Linked DNA regions of Homo sapiens: all the other regions are linked to region 1. Evidence: promoter capture Hi-C in 16 types of primary human blood cells and fetal thymus (Javierre and others, 2016). All regions are on one chromosome and are shown on one strand. Each heading gives the region's core, a stretch centred on a gene start or on the middle of the fragment in contact. The rest is flanking DNA. Distances are from core to core; before and after follow the strand shown. Region 1 overlaps PTK7 (protein tyrosine kinase 7 (inactive)). Region 2 holds the start of PPP2R5D (protein phosphatase 2 regulatory subunit B'delta). Region 3 holds the start of GNMT (glycine N-methyltransferase).

What was found. Contacts are between HindIII fragments. The CHiCAGO score rates a contact against its expected background, and 5 or more counts as called.
Region 2: a contact is called between the fragment with the promoter of PPP2R5D here and a fragment that was not itself captured in region 1, in 2 of 17 cell types (fetal thymus and megakaryocytes). The highest score is 9.2, in fetal thymus.
Region 3: a contact is called between the fragment with the promoter of GNMT here and a fragment that was not itself captured in region 1, in 1 of 17 cell types (M0 macrophages). The highest score is 5.4, in M0 macrophages.

Annotation. Positions count from the first base shown.
Region 1 is chr6:43,143,001-43,146,063 of GRCh38, forward strand. PTK7 (protein tyrosine kinase 7 (inactive)) reads left to right here. Exons shown (of 20, transcript NM_002821.5): 14 at 417-620; 15 at 1,451-1,606; 16 at 2,200-2,432. Among named protein-coding and RNA genes, the nearest start is that of SRF, 27 kb to the right of the region's middle. RefSeq lists an enhancer at 426-515. The HindIII fragment of the contact is 2,662 bases long and covers 117-2,778 here.
Region 2 is chr6:42,983,134-42,986,388 of GRCh38, forward strand. PPP2R5D (protein phosphatase 2 regulatory subunit B'delta) reads left to right here and starts at 1,437. Exons shown (of 16, transcript NM_006245.4): 1 at 1,437-1,571. The coding sequence starts at 1,545. It overlaps LOC124900215 (a long non-coding RNA gene), which reads right to left and starts at 1,181. Exons shown (of 2, transcript XR_007059580.1): 1 at 699-1,181. RefSeq lists an enhancer at 1,216-1,335 and silencers at 1,486-1,555, 1,646-1,795. The HindIII fragment of the contact is 14,822 bases long and covers 1,198-3,255 here.
Region 3 is chr6:42,959,134-42,962,448 of GRCh38, forward strand. It overlaps GNMT (glycine N-methyltransferase), which reads left to right and starts at 1,621. Exons shown (of 6, transcript NM_018960.6): 1 at 1,621-1,840; 2 at 3,079-3,206. The coding sequence starts at 1,635. CNPY3-GNMT (CNPY3-GNMT readthrough) reads left to right here. Exons shown (of 5, transcript NR_134892.2): 2 at 3,079-3,206. RefSeq lists enhancers at 1,340-1,841, 2,020-2,069. The HindIII fragment of the contact is 11,485 bases long and covers 1-3,315 here.

The DNA of each region.
Region 1 (3,063 bases), core at 198-2,697:
TACAGATCTGCTTATTGAAAAACCTGCTCTGTGCCAGGCAGTGCCTGGAATTCTAAACCTGAAGCTCCCAAATGCTGCTCTCCGGGGCCTGGCTCACATTATCAAGTCACTTGGGAAGCTTAACAAATAACGTGGGTTTGTGGTAGCTCCTTGACAGGTGTGCTTATCCGTGTCGCCTGTCTTGGCTTCCGATGCAAAGCCAGCTTGGGAACCCCTGGCCTCATCTCCTTCAGAGTCTTCGTTTGACCTTGGTGGGGCATGAGGACCTGCTGGCCCTTGTTAAAGCCAGTGAAGGTGGTGACCCTCCCGGGCCATCTGTTAAGTTGCCCTGTTGATGGGGTTGGGAGGAGTTAGTAGAGAAGCAGGGCTTCTTTTGCTTAGCAGCCCCTGCCCAGACCCATCTGTGTGTCTCTCAGACAAGCCTGTGCCGGAGGAGTCGGAGGGCCCTGGCAGCCCTCCCCCCTACAAGATGATCCAGACCATTGGGTTGTCGGTGGGTGCCGCTGTGGCCTACATCATTGCCGTGCTGGGCCTCATGTTCTACTGCAAGAAGCGCTGCAAAGCCAAGCGGCTGCAGAAGCAGCCCGAGGGCGAGGAGCCAGAGATGGAATGCCTCAACGGTGAGGGGCCCTGGACGGGGAGGTGGTGCCCGTGTGCGGGAGCTGAGCGCCCTCCCGCGGCCACGGAGGGGAGAGCGCCAGCACTCTGGAAACCGAGCGGCTGTTGCTGGGTCCTGGAGCTGGGACTGCCCCACCCCTAGCGGGAAGCCTGGAGTTGGATTCCCAGGGCCTCGTCTTCTGAGCAACCTGGCTTGAGACTTCTTCATTGGAGCCCCTTGGACCAGCTTCCTATGATTCCCTGCTGTTTCCTCCTCCCAGCACAAAACCACAGATATCATTAGTATATGTACACACGTTGCTGTTGCATGTCTTGTCTCCCTCTATGAGTCTAAGAGCTCCCCCAGGGGCAGTCTTTCTGTTTACTTCCCTTCTCCTATCCCCACTTCCTGGACTGGGAGCTCCTTGAGGTCATTGCTGGGTCTCTCCTATCAGCTCAGGTGTTCAGGAGCAGAGGTTGGGTCTCCATTATTGTGATTTTCCCTTTGTGCCTGTTTAGGGCTTTGCCCAATAGGAGGCCCCATGAAAGCAAAAATCCTTATGTGTAGCTATGGTATTAAGGACCAGTGATTCAGATTAGATGTCTGCAGTTGGCTTCATCTCAGAGGTCATAATCAGCTGCATCACTAAGGGGTCATACCCTAGGGGATAGCCATACATCCCCCACCCAGCCCCAGCCCCATTATTTCATCATTTGGGCTTGCCCTTTCATGTGGAGCACTGTGATTGGACCCAAGTTGGCAAGAGTGGAAGACCAGGGGACAGAACAGAAATCCCCATGGTGGCCAGAGTGTCAGGTCTCATCGTGACGCTCTTGTCCTCCTCCTTCCCAGGTGGGCCTTTGCAGAACGGGCAGCCCTCAGCAGAGATCCAAGAAGAAGTGGCCTTGACCAGCTTGGGCTCCGGCCCCGCGGCCACCAACAAACGCCACAGCACAAGTGATAAGATGCACTTCCCACGGTCTAGCCTGCAGCCCATCACCACGCTGGGTATGTTGCCTTGACTACAGCTGCCCCTGCCTAACTACAAGTCACCCGCTGTGTCTTGAGGCTGGGTACGGGCTAGTGTTCTGAAGTCCCTGAAACCTAGAATGTTAGAGGTGGAGGGAAGCATAGGTAGAGATCTAGCCCAGTGTGGCCCCAGAGCCTGTTATTCACTGCCCTTCGTGCAGATTTTGTCATTCCTGTGTACTACCTGTAGTATTATTTACTTGATGTTTTATTTAAATTGACTCTTTAAAAAAAAAAACTAAGTTACCATTGTTCTAGGAAAAAATATGAGAAATCATGGGTTTGTCATAGTTACGTTTTTTCCTAGCATACGTTAAGACATGTTTACCATGAGCCACCAAAAATTCTCATGCGAGTCACCCTTTGGAAAATGCTGAATATTAGTCCCACCCTTTTATTTTGTTGCTGCAGACACTGAAGCCTAAGGAGGGAGGGGGTCACAGCAGAACCGGGTCTCGTGCCCAGCCCAGGTGGGTGGGTCCCCACTGTGGGAGAGGCTAGGCCCCTCCCCCAGGTCAGGAGCTGCCTCGGCCTGGGTGAAGGTGGCTGGCTGACTCAGACTGTACCCACAGGGAAGAGTGAGTTTGGGGAGGTGTTCCTGGCAAAGGCTCAGGGCTTGGAGGAGGGAGTGGCAGAGACCCTGGTACTTGTGAAGAGCCTGCAGAGCAAGGATGAGCAGCAGCAGCTGGACTTCCGGAGGGAGTTGGAGATGTTTGGGAAGCTGAACCACGCCAACGTGGTGCGGCTCCTGGGGCTGTGCCGGGAGGCTGAGCCCCACTACATGGTGCTGGAATATGTGGATCTGGTATGCTGTTGGCAGGGGACGTGGGGGTCTCGGGTAGGGAGGGCAGTGTCCTACAAAGGTGGGAGTCAGTGGTTGGAGCACCGTGAAAACCTTGTCTCGTGCAGTCTCAGCCGAGACCTCACCTGCCTGCTGTTACACTTTGCCCACCTTATGATGCTCAGCTTCTGCCTTCCCTGCTCTTGGATGCCTGCTTTCCCTTTATCAGCACCCAGTCTTTCCATCTGTATCTCAGGGGCGTTGGTCCTAAGTTTTTCTGGGACTTCTCACTGTCACACTGCAGGGATGCCTTCCAGGTCATCTTCTCTGACTCTTGTTTTCTTTGGTTTGTTATTTTTTCCTCCCCAAAAGCTTGTCCCCACTTGAGAATAAATATATCAGAACCCACTTTGCCTCCCTCCTTCCTAGCACCACTTGTGACATGAGTGTTACCCCAGCCACCAGCCTTCTCCTCTCCACTCAGGGTGTCATTCCCAGAGCTGCGCCTTCCTCTTCATTCCCCAGCTGGTCCTTGCCCTCACCCCATGGTCCTCAAACTGCTGCTTCTCAAATCCCTAGTTCTGGGGCAAGAGCGGGCAGGAGTCCTATCAGTCTTTCCATTAACAAGTACTTACGCGGCTGGGCACAGTGGCTC
Region 2 (3,255 bases), core at 187-2,686, 160 kb before region 1:
ACAGGCGCGCGCCACCACGCCCCGCTAATTTTTGTATTTTTCATAGAGGCATGGTTTCACCATGTTGGCCGGGATGGCCTCGATCTCTTGACTCGTGATCCGCCCACCTCGGCCTCCCAAAGTGCTGGGATTACAGGCGTGAGCCACCGCACCCTGTCTAATTTTTGTATTTTTAGTAGAAATGGGGTTTCACCACTATGGTCAGGCTGGTCTCAAACTCCTGACCTCGTGATCTGCCCACTTTGGTCTCCCAAAGTGTTGGGACTACAGGCGTGAGCCACCGAGCCTGGCCACAGGTTTATTCTTTTTGTCGTCATTGTTGCTGTTTTGAGACAGAGTCTTGCTCTGTCGCCCAGGCTGGAGTGCAGTGGTGTGATCTCGGCTCACTGCAACCTCCGTCTCCCGGGTTCAAGTGATTCTCCTGCCTCAGCCTCCCGAGTAGCTGGGATTACAGGCGTGCACCACCACACCCAGCTAATTTTTGTATTTTTAATAGAGACGGGGTTTCGCCATGTTGGCCAGGCTGGTCTCGAACCTCTGACCTCAGGTGATCCTCCTGCCTCAGCCTCCCAAAGTGTTGGGATTACAGGCGTGAGACACCGTGCCTGCCTGGTTTACATTCTCTCTTAATCCTTTGTTTATACACATCTGTGATTCACCAGACTGCGAACTCTTTGTGGGCATAAACTGAGTCTTACCCATTAGAACACGGACTTGAGCAGGGTGGCAAGTAAGGGATGGATTTCCTGAGACAGTCAACAATGAAGTTGCTTTTCCACTGCGTTCCCAACTGCTCAAATCTAGCTGGTTCCCCAATCCCAGTACACTTGCAGTAGCAACGGGGACCCTCTTCCTAAAGTTGCACCAAGCCAGGGATTCTCCACTCATTTCGCCCAGGTCCTAGCCCTGCCAGGCTTCCCCTTTGCTCCTCTGCAACCCCTGTCTAGGGAGGCGGGTGTCTTGGAAGGTCCTTGGGAGCTCCCTCCATCAATTTTGCATCTGCAATTAGGGCTACTTTACCCCAGTGAAGAAAGGTGCCCTCCGTATTAGGGCTTCCTTCCTCCAATTCCGACTGGACAGGGTAGCAGAGCGGGCAAAGTGTGAGAGCCTTTAGAAGGAAAGAGCAGGGCTCCAAGCGCCGCGAAGAATGGCCGAGGCCGACGCACAGCAGACGCTGGAGTGCAGCCCTCCTAGCCAAGCTTGGGTTTCCCCTTATCCCCGCCTCCTTCTCTAAGCTCGACCCACTTTAGGGCGGGACCACCCACTTCAGCCAATTCTGGAAGCCGAACCCTGGCGGTTTGTACTATTTCTTTCCAATAAGAAAAAAAGGAAGCAGCTTGGCTCCAATGACCAATCCGAGGAGGCGGCGCCTGGTTGTCAGGCAGTTTTGTAGGAGTTCGGGCCAATTGGAGGCGCAGGCACCGCTCGACCCGGGCGCAGCGCGCAGGCGGTGGCGAAGAGACGCCGAGCGGGCCGAGTGCGGCCGAGCAAAGCCGGAGCCGGAGCGGGGCCGCAGGAGACGGGCCGGGTCCGGACGGGCCGAGATGCCCTATAAACTGAAAAAGGAGAAGGTGAGCGTGGCCCTTTTTCCCCCACCGCCGCCTTGGAGCCTGCGCGGAGCTCTGGGAGGGGCCGGAGCCAGGCCCGGGACAGCCCCAGACTGACCCTCCCGTCCAGCCCCCGCAGGACTCCTGGGGCCAGCCCTCCGCCCCCGCGGCTGGCAGCACCCCCAGCTTGTGCCGCAGCTAGGACAGCTCCCCCACCTTGCCCCGGAGAGACTCCCCCCACATACACCTCCCTCCCTTCTTCCCTTCTCTTACCCCCGGCCCAGGGTAACCTCCTTCTTCCAGATCTGCCCCATTCCCAGGTCACTGTCCTGCTTTTTCTGTCCCCCCCATCACCCCTGGCCCCGATCCCCCTTCGGTTTGGGCAGCCCCTCATCTGAAACTGCACCTTCCTCCAGAATTGCCCCCTCGCCCCGCCCTGAGCAGCCCCTTGTCTCCTCTTCCTACCCGCCTGGGACAGCCGCCCCGCAGTCCCCTACGGCCCCTTCTCTTTCCATGCCAAGCCCCTGACCTAGAACAGCGCTGCTTTCTCTCTCCTCCACCCAAATCTGGCCTAGGCCCCTCCCTCTAGTTCTTCCTTCACACACAAACTTGTAAGCAGGACTGAGCCCTTCTGTTGATGGAACCTCACAACGTTGGTGCTGGAAGGGACCTCTGAGCGCATGCAGTGCAATCCCTAATGGTACAGATGAGGAGACTGAGGCCCCGACAGGGCAAGGGACTTGTCCAAGGTCACACAGCCTGCTGGAGGCCCAGCTGCAATATCAGGTCTCCTGACTTAAAGGCCTCTTTTGTATCAAAGCCCTCCTAACTGTCACCCAAGTGCATCCTAGACCAGTCACCTTTCCTAATCTGAGTAGGCTCCTCACCCTTATTCTTAATCCTAGGATAACCTTTGCATTTTTCCTTTTTTTTTTTCTTTTCGCACCAGTGCTGGATTTCTGCCTTTCCTAAGCTACACCATCTTCAAATTGGGAATTTGTCCTCACTGTCAGATTATTGTTCCTTCTTAGCCTGCAGGCCAGCCACCCCTGAACACCCATGTCTTTATCATGATGTCCTGACACAGGCCATTTCTTTTTTTTTTTTTTTTTTTGAGATGGAATTTTGCTCTTGTTGCCCAGGCTGGAGTGCAATGGCGCGATCTCGGCTCACCACAACCTCTGCCTTCTAGCTTCAAGCGATTCTCCTGCCTCAGCCTCCCAAGTAGCTGGAATTACAGGCATGCGCCACCACATCCGGCTAATTTTGTATTTTTAGTAGAGACGGGGTTTCTCCATGTTGATCAGGCTGGTCTTGAACTCCTGACCTCAGGTGATCTGACCCCCTCGGCCTCCCAAAGTGCTGGGATTACAGGTGTGAGCCACCGTGCCTGGCCCACAGGCCAGTTCTTAATGTTGCCTTCTTTCACCTTCCTCATCTACCTCGGTGCTGCCTTCCCCTGCTCCTCATCCGTGCCTTTTTCTACCCTCTGTTTCCTGCTGTTGCTGAGGTCTGACTCAGAGGTGTGGTTCCTTTGAGGTACAGACTCACACATAGGATGCTAGGATACCAGTTCCAGCCTCCCCCAGCTTCTCCTCTCCTGGGGCTGGCCCTTTTTGGTGGGGGTTGGCTCTGGCCTGGTGTTCTGGCCACCTGCTCGATGACCCCAGAGGTATATTGCTTTCATTTGCCCTCTGATTGGCTGGGT
Region 3 (3,315 bases), core at 371-2,870, 180 kb before region 1:
CGGGCGCTGTGGCTCACACCTATAATCCCAGCACTTTGGGAGGCCGACGCCAGTGGATCACGAGGTCAGGAGTTTGAGACCAGCCTGACCAACATGGTGAAACCCTGCCTCTTCTAAAAATACAAAAATTAGCCGGGCGTGGTGGTGAGCGCCTGTAATACCAGCTACTCAGGAGGCTGAGGCAGGAGAATTGCTTGAATCTGGGAGGCGGAGATTGCAGTGAGCTGAGATTGCACCACGGCACTCCAGCCTGGCGACAGAGCGAGACTGTGTCTCAAAACAAAAACAAAAACAAAAAAAAACCCTGCAGTTGCTTCCATGTTTAGGCGCTGCCCACCAAGGGTCCCAAGTTGGAAAGGAAGGAGGAGAGAGGCAGAGAGAGAGAGAGAGAGAGAGAGAGAGAGAGAAGCGCGAGAGCGGCCCTGTAATTGAGCAGAAAGGAAAGGGAGAAAAATGAATCCCAAACTTTGGGCTTACCTCTTTCTGCTGGCTGGCTCGCCAAAATATGTTAACGGTAGAGGATGTCCAGGTTCTTGGCATCTTGAACAAACAATTGGACAAAATGCACAAACAAAGCAAGAAAGGAATGAAGGATTTTATTGAAAATGAAAGTACACTCCACAGTGTGGGAGCGAGCATGAGCATAGGGGCTCAAAGGCCCTGTTACATTTTGTGAGTTTAAATACCCTCTACTTGGGGTACACCCTATGTAAATGAAGAGGATGAAGTAAAGTTACAGTTACAAAGTTATTAATGGCGGGCATACGCCCTATGGAGAGGATATTTCCCGTTATAACTGAAGTGTGAATTGGCCTTATGTTCCCTGTCTCTAGACCCTATTCTCCTGCTTCCTGTGAAAGCAGAGGGTTTTGTTTGTTTTTTGCTTTTTGTTTTTTGAGACGGAGTCTTGCTCTGTTGCCCAGGCTGGAGTGCAGTGGTGCACTCGGCTCACTGCAACTTCCGCCTTCCCGGGTTCAAGCGATTCTCCTGGCTCAGCCTCCGGAGTAGCTAGGACTACAGGCGCGTGTCACCATGTCCCAGCTAATCTTTCTTTATTTTTAGTAGAGACGTGTTAGCCAGGTTTCACCGTGTTACCGTGTTACCGTATTCCAGCCGGGCTCCGCCCCTGGATTCGGTGGACAGACCAGCTTTACCTCCAGAGACTCCCCCTGTCTTCCCTGCACCGGCTGACTATACCTACACACTTCGGTGGCACAATCTTTGTTTAGATATGCTGATGCCTTCCTTCGCTGGGAACGGTCCAGTCCTGCCCGCCTGGCGCTCAGCTCTGCGGATCTCAGGGGATGGAGTGGCAATCTCATTGCTCCCGCCTCTCCTGACCCCTCTCGCCTTCTCCTCGAGACCCGGGTTAAGTGGGCAGAGGGCTCCGAGGGTCCTCTCCCGCCGTGGGATTGCACAGAGGGCTGGGTCCGCAGGCTGGCTAAAAGGACCTAGCCCAGGATTGCGAGGCAGCGCCCTCCCTGCAGCTGGACAGACTCGGGCGCCCGGCCCAAAGCCCGGCAGGGGCGTGTCCGCGCGCTCACCTGCTATTGGCCAGGTGGGGCTGTCGGCTGCCAGCAGTGCTTATGCTTTAAGTGCGGAGCGGGTGGCTGCGGAGCCAGGCGCGGCGCAGGATGGTGGACAGCGTGTACCGGACCCGCTCCCTGGGGGTGGCGGCCGAAGGGCTCCCGGACCAGTACGCGGACGGGGAGGCGGCGCGCGTGTGGCAGCTGTATATCGGAGACACCCGCAGCCGCACCGCCGAGTACAAGGCATGGCTGCTTGGGCTGCTGCGCCAGCACGGCTGCCAGCGGGTGCTCGACGTAGCCTGTGGCACTGGGTGAGCCCAGGCCGGGGCCGGGGGCGTTGCATGAGATCGGGGTCTGTCTCAGCCTGTACTGCGCGGCCGCAGAACCACAGGGCCGGGCACGTCAGGGCGGCCTTTGCCAATCCTGGAACGGGTGGGACACCAGGGCCAGGAGCAGGTACCTGCCCGGCAGAACAGGCACTGCGAGTGCCCCGTGAGGCTAGGGGTCCAGGTAGCGGTTCGCAGGGAGAGGCCCCGGAGAAGGGAGACTGAGTGTGAGTGAGGGTGTGGGCAGAAAAAGTGAGCGTCCCTGAGGCTTTGGAGCCAGAGCCACGGACAGATTGCAAATATTCCTCCTGTGATGGCCTTGGGCAGTGTTAACAGTTAACATTGCTCAACATTTGCACCTGCCAAGCCCAGTGCCAGGAGCTTTTGATACATCACTTTTTCAAACCCTCACAAAGCCCCATGAAGTTAAGCAGTGATATTCTCTCATTTACTACTGGGGAAGTAAGGCCTCAGCAAAGTAAAATTCCCTCATACATCATCCAGTGAAAAGGAGCTAACAGGCCCGGGTTGGTTAAGATCTGTCCTGTGCTCTATTTTTCTCTTTTTTTTTTTTTTTTTTTTTGAGATGAAGTCGTGCTCTGTCGCCCAGGCTGGAGTGCAGTGGCTCCATCTCGGCTCACTGCAAGCTCCGCCTCCTGAGTTCATGCCATTCTCCTGCCTCAGCCTCCCGAGTAGCTGGGACTACAGGCGCCTGCCACCACGCCCAGCTAATATTTTGTATTTTTAGTAGAGACGGGGTTTCGCCGTGTTAGCCAGGATGGTCTCGATCTCCTGACCTTGTGATCTGCCCACCTCGGCCTCCCAAAGTGCTGGGATTACAGGCATGAGCCACCGCGCCCGGCTTTGTCCTGTGCTCTAAACCACCATGTTCTACTGCCTTTTGTGCACACGTATTTTAACTTCAAGGAGCCTCAGCTTGTCTGTCTCTCAAATGGGAATGACACTATTTACCTCTCAGGATTGCCATGAGAATTAATGCATATTTGTAGAGTGCCTGGCTCTGAAGAGGTGCTTTTAAAAAAAAGTTGCCTTGTGGTGACAGGAAACAGATTTGTGAGGTCAGTGGAGAGGGCCTGGGGAGAGGAGGCAGAGGAACGGACTCTGAGAAGTAGAGACAAAAGTGTCCAGTGCAGGGTCTCCTCCTGGCCCTCCCAGGCTCCCCTAACTGCCTCTCTCTGCCTCTCCTCGCTGGCCGTACTCAGGGTGGACTCCATTATGCTGGTGGAAGAGGGCTTCAGTGTGACGAGTGTGGATGCCAGTGACAAGATGCTGAAGTATGCACTTAAGGAGCGCTGGAACCGGCGGCACGAGCCCGCCTTCGACAAGTGGGGTATGCAGGTCTAGCCAGGCTCCCCCAGCCCAGTCACCAGGAACACTGTTCATTCTGCCTGGGGCTCCTTTAAGTGGGGGCGGGGGTGGAGTGTTGTGTTTTCCTCGGG